Linked DNA regions of Homo sapiens: region 2 is linked to region 1. The links are contacts of gene promoters, found by promoter capture Hi-C in human tissues and cell types (Jung and others, 2019). All regions are on one chromosome and are shown on one strand. Each heading gives the region's core, a stretch centred on a gene start or on the middle of the fragment in contact. The rest is flanking DNA. Distances are from core to core; before and after follow the strand shown.

The links. Contacts are between HindIII fragments. The study calls those that stand out against the background at their distance.
Region 2: a contact is called between a fragment that was not itself captured here and the fragment with the promoter of ZNF90 in region 1, in 2 of the 25 tissues and cell types used here (hippocampus and mesendoderm cells).

What each region holds. Positions count from the first base shown.
Region 1 is chr19:20,072,235-20,079,331 of GRCh38, forward strand. ZNF90 (zinc finger protein 90) reads left to right here and starts at 5,766. Exons shown (of 4, transcript NM_007138.2): 1 at 5,766-5,901. The coding sequence starts at 5,899. RefSeq lists an enhancer at 5,709-6,188. The HindIII fragment of the contact is 4,387 bases long and covers 2,374-6,760 here.
Region 2 is chr19:20,003,907-20,010,525 of GRCh38, forward strand. ZNF682 (zinc finger protein 682) reads right to left here. Exons shown (of 4, transcript NM_033196.3): 4 at 512-3,369. The coding sequence ends at 2,099. It also overlaps the pseudogene BNIP3P12. Among named protein-coding and RNA genes, the nearest start is that of ZNF682, 32 kb to the right of the region's middle. The HindIII fragment of the contact is 3,190 bases long and covers 36-3,225 here.

The sequences.
Region 1 (7,097 bases), core at 4,516-7,015:
AAAGGTTAGAGGAACTGCTAACTATAATAACAAGTTTGGAGAGGAACATAAATGATCTGATGGAGCTGAAAAACACAGCACGAGAACTTCATGAAGCATACAAAAGTATCAGTAGCCGAACTGACCAAGCAGAAGAAAGAATATCAGTATTTGAAGACCACCTTGTCAAAATAAGGCATGCAGACAAGATTAAAGAAAAAAGAATAAAAAGGAACAAAGAAAGCCTCTGACAAATATGGTGTTCTGTGAAGGAAACACATGAGGGTAGAAGAAAAGACACCTACACAATACCTTTAAGGGTAAACAAGCTTTATCCCACATAAATGGCAATGCAGATATAAGTAAATTTTTTTTTTTTTTTTGAGACGGAGTCTCACTCTGTCACCCAGGCTGGAGTGCAGTGGCGCGATCTCGGCTCACTGCAAGCTCCACCTCCCGGGTTCACGCCATTCTCCTGCCTCAACGTTCTGAGTAGCTGGGACCACAGGCACGTGCCACCATGCCCGGCTGATTTTTTGTATTTTTAGTAGAGACGGGGTTTCACCGTGGTCTCGATCTCCTGACCTCCTGATCCGACCGCGTTGGCCTCCCAAAGTGCTGGGATTACAAGCGTGAGCCACCGCGCCCGGCCAAGTAAATTGATATAAGAAAATTGCAATGGAAAGGGGAGAAGGAAAAAGATATATATATATACACACACACACACATAAATATATATATATACACACATATAAATATATATATACATACACACATAAATATATGTACATATATATACACTCACCAGACTATGGAGGATTCATCGCCACACCGGAATGCAACAACCTGGGCTCCAGAGTCAGCCACCCATCCATGCAAGGACAAGGAGAGGTCTCTTTAAGCTTTAGTGCGTTCTGGGGCTCTAGGTCATTTTGTAACAAGTTGTTTGGCATGAGGCACAGTGGAGGGCCCTTGAGACTGGGCTCAAGGAACACAAAAAGTTAACTTGTTTTTGCAATTGGCTATTGTTTTTCAATAACAATATAAAGGAATAGATTGAAATCGAGATTTCTCTGAAACAACTCTAGATGAATGCATCAAGGGGCTCGCAGAACCTATTCTCAGGCTTGGTGACCATCGTTTGTGTCCACATTCAATTCAATTCAAATTTAACTTTTTCTCCACCTTTGGCCTCAATTGGATACTCAATTGTAGGAAAATACCCTTACAGATACATAGGGAAGGCATAGTCGATATAGATTACAGATACAGGGTAAGGACAGGAGAATTAAAAGCACAATTAATAAAAACCACACCCAGCATGGCTTTCTAAGGAGAGTCATATTGTGAGAATTGCCAGGGATATACACACCACATTTAGCATGCAATATGGCACAAATCCCTCCTTGGGCTGCGGTAAGCATATCTAATGCCATTTGATTTTGCAACACAACAGTACTCAGCTGAGCAAATTTATCTGGTAACAACATAAGTCTAGTGCTAATATCATTAAGAGCTTTTTCTACATATAACCTTAATATTTTAGTTTGTTGCTGAAGCAGGATTGTACCAGTGGCAGGGGAGAATACTGTGATAGGGTACTGCCACCAGGGAGGCCAGGGAGGCTGGCACATTCATAACCAGTGATGTTTGTAAGTATCTAAATTACTTGGGAGAGGAATATTAACCCGGATGGTGAATGGAATTAATGGCTATCCCCAAGTTCATCTCCCTGTCCAGTGTGGGGACAGGTATCACCACTCATAGGATCTGCATACCCAGAGGGCTCCCCCAGGGGACAGCAATGGAGCTACTGTAATCACAGTGTACTCATGTATTATTAAAGTAGGAAAGAGATTGTGGTTCACTGGGGGCAATGTTGATTTGGAGTATGTGTTGACAATTGTCTGGAGAAACCCCAGAGTAATATTAGAGGAACCTTTTAAGGCCTCCAGACTAAGCGGGGGCTATAGGGAATCCAGGCACCAGCACAGCTGGTTTCCAAAATATACCATTCCAGGAATATTGGGCAGGATACCAAGGCTTTTGATGAAAGGAGAATGTGGAGTTCACCTTTTGTCTGACTTGGGCAAAGATAGATTGCTTAGTGTGGTCAAAGGAAGTACAGGTTGGACTACAAGTGTTGTTGTGACCCCGTTGGTAACTACATAGCCATTCAGAAATGTTGTCAGGATGATTCTCCAAGGTAGCCCATTCCTGGCGGCCTTTGGCAACTCGACGTATAGAAAACATTGTCTGTGATTGGCTTCTATTGCAGCGGTGGCTACCCAGTTCATGAATTTATTCTTGGCCTCAGACACAAAGACACAGGTGCTGACCATTAGTAGATAGATTATTCCCTGTAATAACAAAAAAGGATAGGAACATCATATTGTTTTTCATCTTTAGGAAATTGTACTATGCCTTCATTTTCTGTTTTCACAGCTACAAGGTCACCAGACTTAGGGGTGGGATCTGATGGATGCTGTACCCATATATTGGCTCCAGGATTTAAGCTACATGAACCAGTGGATCTGAATCCCCGAGTTCTGTATGTAGCCTCTGTTGGGACAGAGATTTCCTCAGGGGTTAATTGTTGACAAGGTACCACTAATAATTGAGCAACCCACATTTGTGGTTTTATAGCAAAAGAATCTGGAGTGGTATTGTATAAAACAACCTTTAACTCTCCCCAGTAATCACCATCAATTATACCACCAAACACTATAATGCCTCTCATTGCAAGGCTTGAACACATTGTAATCCATTCATCCACATTCAAATTTGCATTTATGGTGGAAATTTTGGCCTGTCGATCTTCCTGCTGATTAAATAGTCTGTCAAGAAAAGCAGAGATGCATGAGCATCATCATGGAAAACAGATCCAGGAGTGGTGGCCCAAGCCTGTACTTCTACCAATTTGGGAGGCTGAGGTGGGTTGTTCACGAGGTCAGGAGATTGAGACCACCCTGGTGAACACAGTGAAACCCCGCCTCTACTAGAGAAGTACAAAAATTAGCTGGGCGTGGCGGTGCATGCCTGTAATCCCAGCTACTCGGGAGGCTGAGGCAGGAGAATCACTTGAACCTGGGAGGCAGAGGTTGCAGTGAGCTGAGACTCAGCCACTGCACTCAAGCCTGGTGACCCGAGACTGAGCCACTGTACTCCAGCCTGGTGACAGAGCTAGACTCCGTGTCAAAAAAAATAAATTAATTAATACAGGAAAACAATGATAATGGTAGTGTGTACCAGAATTCATGTATCTTCCCAGTATTGTTTTCCCCATACCTCTTTATTCCCAATTAACCATTTGTTTTGTTGTCATTGGGGCATCCAGGTAGTAAGACCATTTGCTACTGAGCAAGAGTTGGTATACAAGTGACAAATCCTTCTTCCTTCCTTTCGAAGAGCTCAGAGGATGTCTACTAGTTCAGTTAACTGGCTGCTCCCACCCCTTTCTTCATCAGAAATGGTTATGTTTTTCGGTTGTTTGTTTTTGAGATGGAGTCTCAGTCTGTCACATAGGCTGGAGTGCAGTGGTGAGACCTCAGCTCATTGCAACCTCTGCCTCCTGGGATTCCAGTGATTCTCCTGCCTCAGCCCCCTGAGTAGCTGGGATTATAGATGCATGCCACCACACCTGGCTAGTTTTTGTATTTTTAGTAGAGATGGGGTTTCATCATGTTGGCCAGCCTGGTCTCAAACTTCTGACCTCGTGATCCACACATCTTGGCCTCCTGTGGATTTTGAGGGAACTCGTGACCTAAATCATAACAGGAAATTTAGGCCTCATAAAGACATCATGGTTAAAGCAGAGGTGTTTTGTTTCCAGTAAAGTCCAATAGCAAGCTAACAATTGTGCACAGGTGAGGAGAGCTGTCACGAAGCTTTGGCGCAGTCTGGGACCCTAGCTCTTTTGTAATGAGTTGTTTGGCACGAGGCTTAGTCATGAGGACCCTTCGCGACTGAGCTGAAGAAACACAAAAAGGTCACTTGTTTTTGGGATTGTCTGTTGTTTTTCAAGAACGAATGTATAGGAATAGATTGAAATACAGATTTCTCTGAAACAGCGCTGGATGAACGCCTCTAGGGGCTCACACAACCTGTTCCCGGACTTGGTGACCATTGTTTGTGTCCACGTTCAATTAGCACAAATTTATTATTTAACTTTGACTCCACACCAGACTATGGAGGATTCACCACCAGACCGGAAAGCAACAGGATGGGCTCCAGAGTTGGCCACCCATCGGTGCACAGACCAGGAGAGGTATAATGACGCTTCTGCGCGGTCTGGGAACCTAGCTCTTTTTGTAACGAGTTGTTCAGCATGAGGCCTAGTCACCAGGGCCCTTCATGACTGGTCTCAAGGAACACAGAAAGGTCAACTTGTTTTTGTGATTGTCTATTGTTTTTCTTTTTCTTTCTTTCTTTTTTTTTTTTTTTTTTGAGACGGAGTCTCGCTCTGTCGCCCAGGCTGGAGTGCAGTGGCGCGATCTCGGCTCACTCCAAGTTCCGCCTCCCAGGTTCACACCATTCTCCTGCCTCAGCTTCCCGACTAGCTGGGACTACAGGCGCCTGCCACCAGGCCTGGCTAATTTTTTGTATTTCTAGTAGAGACGGGGTTTCAGCGTGTTAGCCAGCATGGTCTTGATCTCCTGACCTCGTGACCCGCCCGCCTCAGCCTCCCAAAGTGCTGAGATTACAGGCGTGAGCCACCGCGCCCGGCCTTGTCTATTGTTTTTCAATAACGAATGTATAGGAATAGATTGAATAGATTGACATAGAGATTTCTCTAAAATAGCACTGGATGAACGCCTCAAGGGGCTCACACAACCTCTTCCAGGACTTGGTGACCATTGTTTGTGTCCACGTTCAATTGAGTTCAAATTAAATATTTAACTTTTCCTCCACAAATTCCCCTGTCTTGATGAATTGGTTTTGTCTGGGCAAAGGGCAAGGTAAACTCCTTGGGCGGTTACACAACCTCCACCTCCTAGGTTCAAGAGATTCTCCTGCCTCAGCCTTCGGTGTAGCTGGGACTACAGGTGTGCACCAGCACGCCCAGGTAAGGTTTTGTATTTTTAGTAGAAATGGGGTTTCACCGTGTTGGCCAGGGTGGTCTTGAACTCCTGACCTCAAGTGATTCGCCCTCTTTGGCTTCCCAAAGTGCTGGAATTACAGGCGTGAGCCACCGCGCCTGGCCCTAAATGATTTCCTTTCTGTCTCCTATAACAGTTTGAAATTACTTAAAAGTTGTTTCAAATTGAAAAAATAAAAAGAATGTAGATAAAAATAAAATATAAAAAGTTAAAAAAATTACATTAGATTACAAAATATATATGATGTATATGTAAGTCTCGAGAGGTCAAAAATGACAAATTTGATTTACTTACAAGGTTTTATTAAAATTAGCTTTCGTATTGATAATACACTATTACCAAAGTAAAAGTTTTCTCTTGAACAAAAATTTTTTGTATTATTAATATGACAGCCAAATACTTCTGTTCACCTTTTGAATACATTCAAAAAGAGAAAGAGTAAAAAAGAATTTTCCCATGCTCTCCGGTGGGCCTGGCTCAGCTCAAGGAGGAAGCCCGGCCTGAAAAGGCTGCAGCTGAGGCTGTGACTCTTTCTTCACTCAGCCCAGCATGTGATCACATCTTCTGTCACTCAGGGACTGAGGAGGCGGGGCCTTAAGCATTATCCAATCAGGGACGCTGGGTTGGAAACCGTCCAATCATGCAGGCAGCTGGAGCGAAGAGGAAGGCTTTCGGGTTTGGCGCGGCCATTTGTCTCTTGCTGCAGCTGGTGCTCCAAATCTGGTCTTAGCTGCTTCGTGTCTTCTTCTCCAGCCTCTGTGGCCCTGTGACCTGCAGGTATTGGGAGATCCACAGCTGAGGGACCCCCGGAAGCCTAGAAATGGTGAGAGTGCCTTTCCAGCATTCCGAGAGAGGGGAGGGACTGGTTGGAACCGATGGGAAGTGGCTGTGGCGGGACTTAGGCCTCCCCGCAGTCAGCTCCACAATCTGCGACCGACTTCTCCTTGCCCAGTTCGGCCTCAGTCCCCTTCAGCCATAAGATGGCAACAGCGCCGACAGCCGGGCCCCGCGGCGTCCTGTCTCTTCCCTGCCCTGGCCTGGAGCCCTCTCTGGGCAGCTCTGCACCCACAGCGCTGCGTCTCTCCCAGATTGTGCAGGGAGCACGGGAGGGTTCTCGGGGGAGAATCCTGACTCGGGGTGCAGGTTCATGAATGGGAAGAGCTTTGGTCCATGGGGTTGACAGTTTCTCTTTTCTCCTATTAAAAACTTATGGGGCCGGTCGCTGTGGTTCATGCCTGTAATCCCAGCATTTTGGGAGGTCGAGGCGAGCGGATCACTTGAGGTAAAGGGTTGTTAGTACAACGTAGTTCTTCTTCAAAGACGCAACTTCCTGGTCATAAGTTGGAAAAGTTGTAAATCACCCCTACCCCTTCTTCTCCCTTCTCCTTTTCTCACAAATCGCGCATTACCCGATTTGGAAAAAGCTTGAGTGTAAGCCAACCGGGATCAGCTTAGATTGTGCGGTCTGACCCCAGCCAATGGAGGGAAAACAAAAACAGAACTGCATTAGGGCTAATAACCCCTTCCCGGCCAGGCGCGGTGGCTCCTGCCTGTAATTTCAGCACTTTGGGGCGCCGAGGCGGGCGGATCACGTGGTCAAATTTCTAGACCAGCCTATCCAACGTGGTGAAACCTCTCTCTACTAAAAATACAAAAATTAGCCTGGAGTGGTGCCAAGCGCCTGTAATCCCAGCAACTTGGGAGGCTGAGGCCCGAGAATTGCTTGAACTCGGGAGGCAGAGGTTGCAGTGAGCTGAGATCCCTCCATCGCGCTCCAGCATGCGCGACAGAGGGAGAGTCCTCAAAAAAAAAAAAAAAAAAAAAAGTAAGCATCTTAAAATTTCCATCCTTTATGTAAACACTGTGTTTTAGTAACTTCACTGTATTTTCCAACACTTAGTTTCAAAAACCCAGTGAATAACTCTGGCATGGAAATTAAAGCTTGAACCTAGTGATTCCGAGCTAAGGCTAATATTAAGCCTGCAAAAGGAGGGTTTTTTTTTTTTTTTTGAGATGGAG
Region 2 (6,619 bases), core at 381-2,880, 72 kb before region 1:
CAGTTTGTTCTAACATATTTTCTTTCTTCTCAAAATAGGTACACATCCACATTCAAATACAATTACTTGCTTCATAATTCCCTTACACTTTATCTTTAGAGTAACATATTTGTATATTAAACTTTCATGTAAGTGAAAACTTAAAGAGTCTATGTGTGTCTGGAAGGCCACAGAGGTTGCATGTTCAAAGAAAAATGTGAGATAACATCTTCTACATACTCACTTAAGATTCAGAAATATATGGCTTTTGATTATATGCCTGTGTAATTTTCATAATAATCATCTTAATGACTCTATAATTAGAAGAAAAATAATAAAAATGTAACCTATGGAAACAATATTCTCCAACGTATTTGAAGTTTAAAGTCACTAAGGATAAGAATCACTAGAGATGCCATTCCACTATATTACTGAATAGTATGTTGTTACCGTCTGTTACCTAGAGACTTGAGTAAGGTAAAATAGGTTAATGTTGGTGGCAGGATAACACCTAATTCAATGCACAACTGTCTTAACACATTAAAAATAATTGTTTTATTGAAACTAAGTTCACACAGTCTAAGAAAAGCATTACAAAATCCACTATACTATCTAATGTGCAATTGGTAAAACAATTTACTAAAATTTGAATAATGCACAAGACTATTACTCTGAACATCTATCTCATGCAGCACTTACAAGTTTTATAAGTCAACCACAAAAGTTTCTCTGTGTACTTTCTTCACACACCTCATATTTCAGTGTCCTCAATCTTCTGTTGAAAAGTATGTAAATGACATCCTAATATAGAACTTCTCAAACCCCGAGCAGCAGAAATTGACCACATGCTTTCATACAGACACTAGGAATAAAGACACAGCATCAAGTAATTTGAGAGTTCAATTACATCAAAATTTGCCTTTGTAAAAATCTAAAATTCTTTCAATGCAAAAAGTGTACTTTGAATATAATTGTTTAAGTCTCAAAATATTAATCTCCTATTTCTGTTTAGGCTAACTAAATTATGTTAACCTTGAATTACTCTTTATAATCAATGCCCTGATTTAGAATAACATTGAAAGTGTTAGCGTCTTAGTGGTTTCTACTGTGAATCTTCTGATGTTCATTTAGACTTAATTTTTTATTAATTTTTTATATTTACTGCATCTGTTAAATGCTTTCATATAAACTAGCGTTCTTTCTTTTTTTTTGAGACAGAGTCTCTGTCGCCCAGGTTGGAGTTCAGTGGCGCGATCTCGGCTCACTGCAAGCTCCGCCTCTCGGGTTCACGCCATTCTCCTGCCTCAGCCTCTCCCAGTAGCTGGGACTACAGGCACCCGACAACATGCCCAGCTAATTTTTTGTATTTTTAGTAGAGACAGGGTTTCATCGTGGTCTCGATCTCCTGACCTCGTGATCCGCCTGCCTCGGCCTCCCAAAGTGCTGGGATTATAAGTGTGAGCCACCGCGCCCGGCCTTAAACTAGTGTTTTCTAAGGTGTACTTTTTAAACAATTTTTTTCATATTCATTACAGTTGTAGGGTTTCTTTCCAATGTAAATTATCTAAAATGGAATAAAATTTGAGCAACTGTTAGAGGGTTACCTTTCAGTATAAATTCTCCTATGTACAACAAAATCTGTAACATAAGTAAAAGTATTGCAACAATCTTTATATTTGTAATGTTTTTCTTCAGTATAAAAACTCTTGTGTACTCTAAGGCTTATATTTTTGAAGTCTTTCCATGTACAAATGTAATGTATCACTATCATTACACCTTGTGTACTCTAAGGCTTTTATTTGGTGACATCTTTCCACAGATAAATGTAATGTGTATCATTACACTTACATTGCTTTTATCTAGCACAAAACCTCTGATGAGTAAGTTCATAGTAGTTATTAAATGCTTTGCCACATTCTTTAAAATCAGAATTTTTCTCAGCATGAATTTTCTTCTGTGCAATAAGCTGTCAGCAATGGTTGAAGACTTTCCCCACATTCTTCACATTTGTAGTGTTTCTCTCCAGTATGAATTATCTTGTGATTTCAATGCCTTGAGCAAGATTTATGGAATTTGCCACATTCTTTACATTTGTAGGATTTCTCTTTAGTAAAAATTCTTACGTAGTAAGGTTTGAGCAGTGATTAAAAGCTTCCCCACATTTTTTATACTTGCAGGATTTCTCTCCTCTTTGAACTCTCTTATGTTCATTAAGATGTGAGCACCGTTTAAAAGCTTTGCCACATTCTTCACATTTATAGCGTTTGACGGCAGTATGAATTTTCTTATGTCTAGTAAGGTGTGAGCACCGATTAAAGGCTTTTCCACATTCTTCACAGTTGTAGGGTTTCTCTCCAGTATGAATTCTCTTATGTTCAGTAAGGATTGAGGACCAGTTAAAAGCTTTGCCACATTCTTCACATTTGTAGGGTTTCTCTCCAGTGTGAATTCTCTTGTGTTTAGTAAGGTATGAGAACCTCTTAAAGACTTTGTCACATTTTTCACATTTGTAGGGTTTCTCTCCGCTATGAATTACCTTATGTTCAGTAAGAATTGATGATGAGTTAAAAGCTTTGCCACATTCTTCACATTTATAGGGTTTCTCTCCCGTATGGGTTCTCTCATGTATAGTAAGTAGTGAGCAGTGGTTAAAGGCTTTCCCACATTCTTTACATTTGTAGGGTTTCTTTCCAGTGTGAATTGTCTTATGTTTGGTGAGATGTGAGTGCCGGTTAAACGCTCTGCCACAGTCTTCACATGTATAGGGTTTTTCTCCTGTATGAATTTTCTTATGTCTAACAAAGGGTGAACACCAGTGAAAGGCTTTTCCACATTCTTCACATTTGTAGGGTTTCTCACCAGTATGGATTCTCTTATGTTTAGTAAGACTCGAGCACCAGTTAAAAGCTTTGCCACATTCTTCACATTTGTATGGTTTCTCTCCAGTGTGAATTCTCTTATGTTTAGTAAGGTATGAGAACCACTTAAAGGTTTTGCCACATTCCTCACATATGCAGAGTTTCTCTTCAGTGTGAATTATCTTATGATAAGAAAGGCCTGAGTGAGATTTAAAGACTTTGCCACATTGCATACATTTGAAAAGTTTCTCTGTAGTATGTCTTATGTTTTCTCTATTTAGATTTGATGATTTACTAAAGACTTTCACACATTTATTATATGGGAAAATTTTGCTAGGTAGAGTTGACAAACATTGGTTAAGTCCATTATAAATTTCTTTTTGATCCTTACACTCACCCACATTTTCCCCATCCTTCCTTAAGTGTAAATCCTCAAGTCCACAGCTTCCATATCTTCTCAGTATCACTTTTTGGAATGAATCTTGCATGCACTGTTCTGGCAAAAGGTCTTCAGTGTAATGAGAAGACATAGCTGAAATATGAAATTAACAAAATATCCCACTTGTTATTTTCAGACTCAGATACATATACTTTACAAATCTAATACAGAAAATTAAGAAAAGGACAGGATGACTTACTAGATGCAGCTGGGAAACACTCACTCCAAGGAGAGAAAACAAAATGTTGAGTAAAACATCATACTTTAAACAGATCTTTTGAGAAAAAGCTTAATTCAGAGGTAATGCAGAAACTGTGGTTGAAGAGGAAGATGGGAAGCTTGCTCAAAGTCACTGGGCACCAGGACTGGCTCGTAGATCCAGACCAGTCTTATGGAAGGGATATGTGAAGAAACCCCAGGGCAACACAGTCTAGCCATGGACCTCTGAGATTCTCACTTTGGTTCCTTCTCCTTGAAAGGCATTTCCCAGCTAAATCTAGTCTGAGCTCCTGATTATAGACTCTCATATGATCCCTATACATCTGTGAACTGGCAGGGGGAGCCACCTGGAGAATAGGCAGAGGCACAGCTTAAACTCTTGTGGAAATCTGCAGTTTTCACTGTGCTGTGCAGCTGTAGCTGACCATAGGTGCCCATCCTCCGAGGCTCTGCATCTTGCACTGAGGGGATCCATCTGCTGCTGTCTGCCAGGCTGAGAGAGAGCAAGGTTGTAGCTATCATGGGACTGAGGTGAATCTGATCCATGCACCACTTTGCCTGCTGGCACCGTCCAAGATGACCTACCTGGCTGGTCCTGCAGAAGGGTGCCCACAGCATGGCATCCACTTATATCACAGATGGTGCTTGACCCCAAAGGGCCAGAGGACAAATCCATGGGCCCAGTGCCAACTGCCCAGGTCTTCAGCACACTGCCTGATAATATCAAGCTGATATATGTGGTCTGAGCTTAAGTGGGGTAGAAGCCCACACTGTCAGCACACAGAGAAGTCATGGGATCATGAGCCAGCATGGGAGCTGAGTTCCCCTTCATTCACATGAATAAACTGGGAAGGGTGTGGCCAGATGACCAGTCATGGTTTCCATCCCAGGAAGCCTAGCAGCATAGAACATCTGGAAGAACTCAGCAATTTCAATGCAGATGGCTTGGGACAAGCCTAGCCAATTCAGCCTGCTCCCAGGGAAGACACTGGAGACAGACCTGCTGAGTTGGGGGACCACAAGCTGGGTGGGCCCCACAACTACCTGCTGGACTAAAAATCCTGGGCTGCAGGTGCAATACTGGTTGCAAACCCATGGTGCAATTGCCCTGCCTGGTGTTCCATCCTCGAGCCATGGCATCACCAAACGACTCACAGACACATTCCATAACCCATCCTTACTTTTGCAAGCAAAGGAGAACAGCAGGACCCCTGATAAATATGGGTCTCCTGGTGACCTAAAAGTGTGAACTGTCCCTAAGGAAGGGTAAGCACAGACCACCAAAGCCCTCCTTGGAGCAAAGGAATTGGGTGCAGTGCCAGCAGTTGAAGGGAATATCACCAAGGCCCCAAAATAAATTTGGAAAGAAAATAATCTCTCACACACTATCTTCCCTCCCCAGAGCACTCTTAAGTGCCATCTACTTGGACTGAAGCCTGAATTACACCACCAAACAAGAATACATTGCTTCAACATGAAGCACTCTATGAAATCCACTGCAGGAACTTATCTACAACCAAGGGACCTAGACAGAACCTCTGCCCTCTGAAAACAACCTTAAATGACACCAACTGATTATACACAACATACACCACAGCCAAACCCTCAAGGAAAAAAAGAAATAAAAAAATTTTAACACCCCATCCAAATGACAGAAAATTCAAAAGGAAAAGAAGCACCAGCTCCCTCAGATGTGAAAGCGAAAGAAAGCTGGCAATACAGAAAGCCAGAGTGTTTCGTTACCTCAAAAGGATCTCACTAGTTCCTTTGAAAGAACCAAACACAACTTTAAAAGTTGAAAATTTTACTACAGGACTTTCAAAATACAATTGAAAGCCTTAAAAACAGAATAGACTAAGCAGATGAAAGTATTTCAGAGCTCAGAGACTGCTCCTTTATATCAACCCAGTCAGAAGATAGTAAAGAAAAAAGAATTCACTACAAAAAAACAAAGCTTCTGAGAAATATGGAATTATGTAAAGGGGTCAAACTTATGACTCATTAGTATTCCTGAGAGAGAAGGAAAAAAAGTAACCAACTTGGAAAACATACGTAAGGATATAATCTACGAAAAATTTTCCCATCTTGCTAGAGAGGTTGACACAGAGATACAAGAAATTCAAGGAACTCCTTTGAGATACTATACAAGACAACCATCCTCAAGGCACATAGTATTCAGACTTTCCAAGGTCAACATGAAATACAAAAATAAAAGGCAACTAGAGAAAAGGGCCATATTACCTAAAAAATGAATTCTATCAAACAGTGGACCTCCCCACAGAAACCTTACAATCTGGAAGATATTAGGGGCCTGTTTTTAACATTTTTAAAGAAAGAGGCCAGGTGCAGTGGCTCACGTCTGTAATCCGAGCTTTTTGGGAGGCCAAGGTGGGCAGATCACCTGAGTTCAGGAGTTCAAGACCACCCTGGGCATCATGGTGAAAGCCTGCCTCTATTAAATACAAAACATTAGCCTGGCATGGTAGCGTGCACCTGTAGTCCTAGCTACTCAGGAGGCTGAGGCACGAGAATTGCTTGAGCCCTGGAGGCAGAGGTTGCAGTGAGCTGAGATTGCACCACTGCACTCCAGGCTGGGCCACAGAGCGAGACTCCATCTCAACAACAACAAAAAAAGAGATTAAAAAAAAAAAAGAAATTCCAATCAGGAATTTTATGTTCCAGCAAACTAAGTTTCATAAGCAAAGGAGGAATAAAATATTTCTCAGACAAGCAACCACTAGGTGAATTAACTACCACTAGACTGGCATCACAAGGTGCTTAAGAGTGTTCCAAATATGGAAATGGAAGAATGATACCTACTACCACAAAAACACACATAAGTACATAGCCCACAGACCCTACAAAGCAACTGTACAATCAAGACTACAGAGTGCATGAAGGGAACAAAAACTAAGATATCAATATTAACCTTGAACACAGCAGTCTAAATGCTCCACTTAAAAGACACAAAGTGGTGGCCAGGCACAGTGGCTCATGCTTGTAATCCCAGCGCTTTGGGAGGCTGAGGCAGGTGGATCACCTGAGGTCAGGAGTTTGAGACCAGCCCAGCCAACATGGTGAAACCCCGTCTCTACTAAAATACAAAAATTAGCCAGGAGTGGTG